Linked DNA regions of Homo sapiens: region 2 is linked to region 1. Evidence: promoter capture Hi-C in human tissues and cell types (Jung and others, 2019). All regions are on one chromosome and are shown on one strand. Each heading gives the region's core, a stretch centred on a gene start or on the middle of the fragment in contact. The rest is flanking DNA. Distances are from core to core; before and after follow the strand shown.

Evidence for each region. The method cuts DNA at HindIII sites, captures the fragments that hold promoters and counts their contacts. A contact is called where the count stands out against the background at its distance.
Region 2: a contact is called between a fragment that was not itself captured here and the fragment with the promoter of SNAPC1 in region 1, in 1 of the 25 tissues and cell types used here (dorsolateral prefrontal cortex).

The regions. Positions count from the first base shown.
Region 1 is chr14:61,760,270-61,764,276 of GRCh38, reverse strand. SNAPC1 (small nuclear RNA activating complex polypeptide 1) reads right to left here and starts at 1,857. Exons shown (of 10, transcript NM_003082.4): 1 at 1,689-1,857. The coding sequence starts at 1,816. RefSeq lists enhancers at 887-1,630, 1,631-2,374, 2,442-2,531, 2,375-3,118, 3,119-3,863. The HindIII fragment of the contact is 10,492 bases long and covers 1-4,007 here.
Region 2 is chr14:62,090,457-62,094,463 of GRCh38, reverse strand. All of the region lies in intron 7 of SYT16 (synaptotagmin 16), which reads right to left. Among named protein-coding and RNA genes, the nearest start is that of LINC00644, 48 kb to the left of the region's middle. The HindIII fragment of the contact is 3,249 bases long and covers 338-3,586 here.

The DNA.
Region 1 (4,007 bases), core at 608-3,107:
AGTTATTTCGCCTTTTTAATATTATATGTACTATGGTAATAAAAATAGATTCATCCAGTCACTGTCCTCACAGAGGTCAGTCTAGTCAAAGGAAAATTTTAAAACGGTAGTAATAATGAACATTTGACCAGCCTGGCCAACATGGTGAAATCCCGTCTCTACTAAAAATACAAAAATTAGCCAGGCTTGGTGGCACAAGCCGTAGTCCCAGCTACTCGGGAGGCTGAGGCAGGAGAATCTCTTGAACCCGGGAGGTGGAGGTTGCAGTGATAGGAGATCGCACCATTACACTCCAGCCTGGGTGACAGAGCAAGACTATGTCTCAAGAAAAAAAAATAATAATAATGAACATTTATTGAGCACTTAGAATGTATTTCTGATATATCAGCTCATTTAATCTTCACAACTACTATGAGGTTTATCATTGCCTCTATTTTACAGATATGGAAACTCAAGTAACTTGCCCCAAGTCATAGCGGACCCTGCAATCAAATGCAGCCAATTGGGTTCCATAACCTATGCCCTTAACAATCCCACACTGCCTTTTCAACTATACCATTACAACAAAATGTGGAAAGCGGTGACATAAAATAAAAACAGGGTGCTATGCGGGGAAAAAACATGAACAGCGTACTCAGTCTAGAAGAGCAAAAAAGACTTCCCCCGAGGATGTCATTTGAGCTTAACCCTGAGTGAAGAATAAGGTGGACAAAACAAGAGAGTTGCGGTGGAAACTCCAGGATTAGGAAAAGCCTGTAGAGGGCCCAAAGAAAAAAAAAAAAAAAAAAAAGCAGCTGCTGGAGCAAGAAAGTGAGTGCATGGAGGGGACTGGCAGGCGAAGCTGGAGAGATAGGCAAAGGCCAGTGAGGAATGGTCTTGGCAAGTCAGAGAATTCAAGCGTTATCCCAAAGGCAATGGGCACCACTACAGAGTAATAAGTCGGGGAGTGACATAATCAAATTTGCACTTTTGAAAAACAACTTTTGGGCCGGGCGCGGTGGCTCACTCCTGTAATCCTAGCGCTTTGGGAGGCCGAGGCGGGCGGGTCACGAGATCAGGAGTTCGAGGCCAGTCTGGCCAACATAGTAAAACCCCGTCTCTACTAAAAATACAAAAAATTAACCGGGCGTGGTGCCGGGCACCTGTAATCCCAGCTACTCCGGAGGTTGAGGCAAGAGAATCACTTGAACCTGAGAGGCGAAGGGTTGCACTGAGCCGCGAACGCGCCATTGCACTCCAGCCTGGGCGACAAAAGGAGACTCCGTCTCAAAAAAAAAAAAAAAAAAAAAAAAAAAGACAACTTTGGTTGTTGGAGGAAAAATTAATTCAATCTTGAAGGGTTTTGTCTTTGCTTGTGTGTTTTTAAACATCAGGTCCTAGAACAAGACTGGGGAAGGGCAAATGATAGTGGCCTGGCTCAGGGTGGAGATGGGAGAGAGGAGTTTAGAAGGGAGGCCAGGCAGAGACGCATATTTGGGAGGAGGCCGCAACAACCATCAGGGCACAATGAAATAGAGCAGGGAAAGCGCGTTGCCTGAGCACAGGGGAAGGTCCAGGAGTCATGGAGGCAACCTTCGGTGACTGCCGCTCTTCTCAGCCCTTCACAAGTGCAATATCGCCGGGAAGGAGGCAACTTTCTACACCACCTGCGGGCAGGGAGAGGCGGGTGGTGGACAAGAAACACCCACCAGAAGATAGTCCCGAACTTCATGTTTCTCCAGAGCTCCGTGAAGTCCTCGAAGCGTACACTGTCCGTCTCCTGGAAGCGGCTGAGCAGCGCCTCGCAGTCGGTCTGCAGGCCGGGAGGAGTCCCCATGGCACCCGAAGCCCGCACGCCTCCGAAGCCCGCACGCCTCTAACGGACTAGCCAGCGGTGGTCGCCCAGGAAACCAAGCCCGAACGGCCCGCCCCCTACGGCGTGCGCACACGCGCTCCGTGATGCATTATCCGGCACCTTTAGCTCCGCCTTTATCCGGGCTCTTGCCACCGGTCGTGTGCTTACTGCGCGTGCGTGAAAGCGTTCTGATGTTTTACTGGCTGAGATTGCTTTCACCCAGAGTGCTGAGATCCACCCTTCTTTGGAAGAGGTTTACGTCTAAAGTGTTGTGTTTGCTCACGAGCGGTTTTAGGTCTTCATTTTCCGCTAGGTTATGTAACTTGACTTTACCCTTACTAGCACTCTCCTTTAAACTGACCCTAGTGTGACATAAGTGAACTTTTGAGCTAGGAAAGAACAGTCCCAACCCCAACCCCACTCCCACTTGGGAAGAGAAGCTAAAGAAGGCTTGCTAGGAAACAAACTGCACTCATTCTCCTTCTGGTCATCGAGAACCCTAATACTCTGTACCCACATAATACGATGCTTAATGTGCGGCCCTCTCTTTGTAGCCCTGGCATTCTGCAACCACTCTTGAAAAGAAGAGCTGCATTTCATACCCTCTTGTAAACAGCCCTCCTCCTGCCCTGCCACGCATTCACCCCTGTGCTACATAGCACTTAGCAGAAAATACCTACTTGTTATATTCTTGTTATATTATTATTTGGATGAATTGCCTTTTTGTGTACACGCTGCCACCTAGCTTCCTTCCTCCAGGAGCTAGCTATGGAGTAACATTTTGAACTTTAGATCATTTCTCTGATTGAAAGGTAAGCTATCATTCTTTAGAAGAGGTATCCTGATATAATAGAAAAACATTGGGCTTTCTGTGTGTAAATGGAGTGTCAACTCACTTTACTTTTCTGATCCTTGACCTGTTTTTGTTTGTTTGTTTGTTTGTTTGGATTTGTTTGTTTTTTGTTTTGAGACGGAGTTTCGCTCTTGTTGCCCAGGCCGGAGTTCAGTGGCGCGGTCTCGGTTCACTGCAACTTCCGCCTCCCGAGTTCAAGCGATTCTCCTGCCTCAGCCTCCCGAGTAGCTGGGATTACAGGCATGCACCACTCCAACCGGATTTTGTTTTGTTTTGTTTTGTTTGTATTTTTAGTAGAGACAGGGTTTCACCATGTTGGCCAGGCTGGTCTCGAACTGCTAACCTCAGGTGATCCGCTCCCCTCGGCCTCCCAAAGTGTTGGGATTACAGACGTGAGCCACTGCACCCTGCCCTCTTGACCTGTTTTTTAAATGTTATGTAATATTTTATGTCACAGAAAAATTTATGCGATGTGTGAGATAAAAAGCATAGCAGTTAAACACCTGTACACCTTTCACCTGTGTAGGAACCAGAACATTACCAACGCCTTCACATCAATCTGCGATTTCCTCCTCTGACCTATTCCTTTGACTGTACCCTACTTTAATCACAGCTACTGGTTGGGCACGGTGGCTCACGCCTGAAATCCCAACACTTTGGGAGACAAAAGCAAGAGGATTGCTTAAGCACAAGAGTTGGAGACCAGCCTGGGAAACATGGTGAAAATTAGCCGGGCATGGTGGTGCACACCTGTAGTCCCAGCTACTCGGGAGGCTGAGGTGGGAGGATCATTTGAGCCTGGGAGATGGTGGTTACAGGAGACAGAGGTTGCAGTGGTGAGCCGAGATCGTGCCACTGCACTCCATCCTGGGCTACGGAGTGAGACCGAATCTCAAAAAATAAATAAATAACTACCTTGAATTTTGTTTCTCTTTCTCATGTATATATTTTATCACATATGTATGTATATTTAAACGGTATATTTTTTAGTTGTGGTTGGTTTTGAGTTTTATGAAAATGGTATTGCAACTGGCTGGGCGCAGTGGCTCACGCCTGTAATCCCAGCAATTTGGGAGGCTGAGGTGGGTGGATCACCAGGTCAAGAGTTCGAGACCAGCGTGACCAAAATAGTGAAACCCCGTCTCTAATAAAAACACAAAAATTAGCTAGGCGTAGTGGCGTGTGCCTGTAATCCCAGCTACTTGGGAGGCTGGGGCAGGAGAACCACTTGAACCTGGGAGGCAGAGGTTGCAGTGAGCCAAAATGCATTATTTCCCCCATGATAGAGTGGGGGAACCATTTGGGAAATGGTTCATTACA
Region 2 (4,007 bases), core at 713-3,212, 330 kb before region 1:
AATGAGTTTGTTGCTCTAAAAAAAGAAATTGAAAAATGGAATGTTAGAAGTATGTATTCAGTACTACTGGCTGCATTTAGGGGGAAGAGGGGAAAAGTTAAGCTTGGGAAAGAACTGACCAGTATGCAAGAAAAAAGAGAAAATACAGAAATTCAGCCCTGGCTGGAAGAGTTGATTGATTCCGGATCTCTGAAGAAAGAGATTTTAAAAGGCTTTGAGCCACAAAGGCCCAGTAAACTTTCTCAGGTGAATAATGTGACATTTAATTCAGGTCAAATATCAAATTAACAGTGTGGTCTTTACACCAGAATTGAATTATCTGAGCCATGTGACTGAGTTCTGAAAAATGGAATATGAGAAGTGATAAATGTCACCTTCAATCATGGTTATATTCAACCACTCCCACCCAAGCAATAAATCTCCCATGCTGTCTCTTCCCTTTCCATGCCAACAATGGAGGTCACATTTTGAATATCATCACCTCAGTAAACGGGGAGTGCCTGTATGTCTGAGTTACAGCTTAGAGAACAGTCACATAACTACTTTGGACTGTAATGCAAAGGAGAAATAAGCTTTTGCTGTGTGAAGCCCCTGAGTCAGCAGGGTTTAATCATTACATCACAGCCTAGTCTATATTAATACATCTTCTATTACACATCTGCTAAGATTTTTGTCAGTAATGAAGAGTGCATTTTGCCAAAAGCAACTTTTTGCATCTATTGAGATAATCGTAATTTTTTCAAAAATTTTATTTTTTAATCAAAAGCTTCTATTTGCATCTACTGAGATTATCATAAGGCTTTCTCGTAAGCCAGTTAATATGGTAAATTACACTAGCAGATTTTGCTAATATTAAATCATTCTTGCATTCCTGAGCTAAGCCCAATTCATTGGTCATTAATGGCTTCCTTCCTTATATATTATAAAGCTAGGTGGACCCAGTATAAACTGTAGTGTGTTTATAGTATGAGGCAGTGTGAGGAAGAGGGGCAGGCAGGGACTGGGAAAAAGAGAGAGACCTTAATCTAATATCTATCTTTTACATAGCAATTTTTGTCCCTTTATATTTATTATGACTACTGATATATTTTGATTTATATTTACTGTTTGGTTTGTGCTTTCTATTTATCACACATTTTTCTACACTTTAAAAAGTATTTTCTCTGCTTTCTATTGAATTGGTTACATTTGCTTTATTCTCATTTATTCCCTCTATTGGTTTAAAAGATTAAAATTTTAATATGTTCACTTGGTTTAATGTCTAAAATTAATCAAAATCTCTACTCTCTTCTATTTTTAAATCTCTTAATTTTTTAAATAGACTTAATTTTTTAGAACTGTTTTAGTTTCTTAACAAAATTGAGCAGAAGGTACAGAGATTTCCCATAAACTCCCTGCTCCCACATACATACAGCCTGCTAATCTCTTCATTTTAATACTAGTATTTCTTTTCCTTGAAGCAACATCAGTCTAAACATCCAGCTGTCATATTTCTTACTCATAACCTGGTTTTGCAATATCCTCTGATCTCTCTCCAGTGTATTTTTTTCAATTTTAAAAAATTGTGTTAAAATATACACAACAAAATTTACCATTTTAACATATTTAAGTGTACATTTCAGTGGTATTAGATTCATAATGTTGTACAAAATCACCACCATCCATCTCCAAAACTCTTTTCATCTTGTAAAAACTGAAACTCCATATCCATTAAATGATAACTCCCCATTTCCCTCTCCTTCACCCCCTGGCAACCACCATTCTACTGGCTTTTATGATTTTTTTTTCTACTCTAAATACCTCTTATAAGTGGAATCATACAGTGTTTGTCTTTTTGTGACTGGCTTATTTCATTTAACATAATGTCCTCAAGGTTCATCCATACTGCAGCATATGTCAGAATTTTTTTCCTTTTTAAGGTTGAATAGTATTCCTTATATGTATATACCACATTTTGCTCATACATTAATCCCTCAATGGACACTTAGGCTGCTTCCACATTTTAGCTATAGTGAATAATGTTGCTATGAACATGGGTGTACAAATTTCTCAAGACCCTGCTTTCAATTCCTTGGAGTACATACCCACAAATGGATTTGCTGAGTTATATGGTGATTCTATTTTTCATCTTTTCAGGAACTGTCATACTGTTTTCCATAGGAGCTGTACCATTTTACATTCCTACCAGTAATGGACAAGGGCTCCAATTTCTCCACATTCTCATTAACACTTGTTAGTGTGTGTGTGTGTGTGTGTGTGTGTGTGTGTGTGTGTGTGTGTGTGTGTGTGTTATAGTAGCCATCCTAATGGGTATGAGGTGGTATCTCACTGTAGTTTTGATTTGCATTTTCCTGATGATTGATTTTGAGCATTTTTTCATATTTCTATTGGCCATTTATATATCAACTTTGGAGGAATGTCTACTCAAGTCTTTAATCCAGTTTTAAACTCACACTGTTTTGTTGTTGAGTTTTAGGAGTTCTCTATATATTCTGGATATTAGTTTGTTATCAGATATATAATTTGCAAATATTTTCTCCCATTCTATGGGTGGTCTGTTTACTCTATTATCTTTTGATGCACAAAATTTTTGAACTTACATGAAGTCCAGTTGTCTATTTTTAATTTTGTTGCCTATGCATTTGTTGTCATATCCAAGAAATCACTGCCAAATCCAAGGTCATAAAGTTTTTGCCCTATGTTTTCTTCAAAGAGTTTTATAGTTTTAGGTGTTATATTTAGGTCTTTCATCCATTTTGAGTTCATTTTTATATATGGTGTTAGGTAAGGATCCAACCTTCATGCTTTTGCAGGTTGAGATCCACTTTTTCTAGCACCATTGGTTGAATAGACTATCCTTTTCCCTTTGAATGGTCTCGGCAGCCTTGTCAAAAATCATTTGGAGTCACTATCCCATTCCCATATTTATGTAATTTCTGCCTAGAATTTTATTACCATTTTGTGGTAGTACCCGCAATAGTAGTCATTTTTCCTACCGCTCCTGTTTTTGCTTTAGGCAATCCATGCAGGCCTATATTTACTTACATGTTAACCAATTTATTTGTTCATTCTTCCTTCTTGCTTCCCATTACTTCCTTCTAATTTCAATTGCTTTCTTTCTGAATTGCATCATTTAGTTGCTTTTTCCTAATGAAAAACTCTGTCAAACTTTGTGGAAAATATCTTTATTTTTCCTTCACTCAGGGAACAAAATGCTAAGCTGAGTATTTTTCTCCCAATACTTTGATATTCTTTTCCCATTGTCCTCTGGTTTCCATTAATGTTGTTAAAAAGTCTGTCCTCAGTCTTACTGTGATTCCTCTATAGGTAACTGGGTTTTTTAACATCTTTATTGCAATATAATTGACATACCATGTGATATGATTTGACTGTGTCCCCAGCCAAATCTCATCTTGAATTGTGGCTCCCATACTTCCCACATGTTGTGGGAGGGACCCGGTGGGAGGTAACTGAATCATGGGGGTGGGTCTTTCCGTGCTGTTCTCATGATAGTGAATAAATCTCATGAGATCTGATGGTTTTATAAAGAGGAGGTTCCCTGCACAAGTTCTCTCTTGTATGCCACCATGTAAGACATGCCTTTTGCCTTCCTTCATGATTGTGAGGCCTCCCTAGCCACGTGGAACTGTGAGTCCACTAAACCTCTTTTACTTTATAAATTACTCAGTCTTGGGTACGTCTTTATCAGCAGCATAAAAACAGACTAATACACCATAGTAACTATCTTTTCTTTTCTATTGCTTTTAATATTTTTTAACTTTGATATCATCATGAGAATTAGAGTTGATGTAGAAAAAGGAATATCACCTATGCACTCAATAAGTTAGTGCCTCATCTAAATTTTCATATGAAATGGCCATGACTCTGAGCAGACAGTGGCTCTTAATACACTATATTTAACAAAAACTGGACCAGGATTCTAAAAGAAGGTCATATGTCTCATATATGTTCATTTTCACTGAGTCTTTTTTTCCCTGCACTCTGTA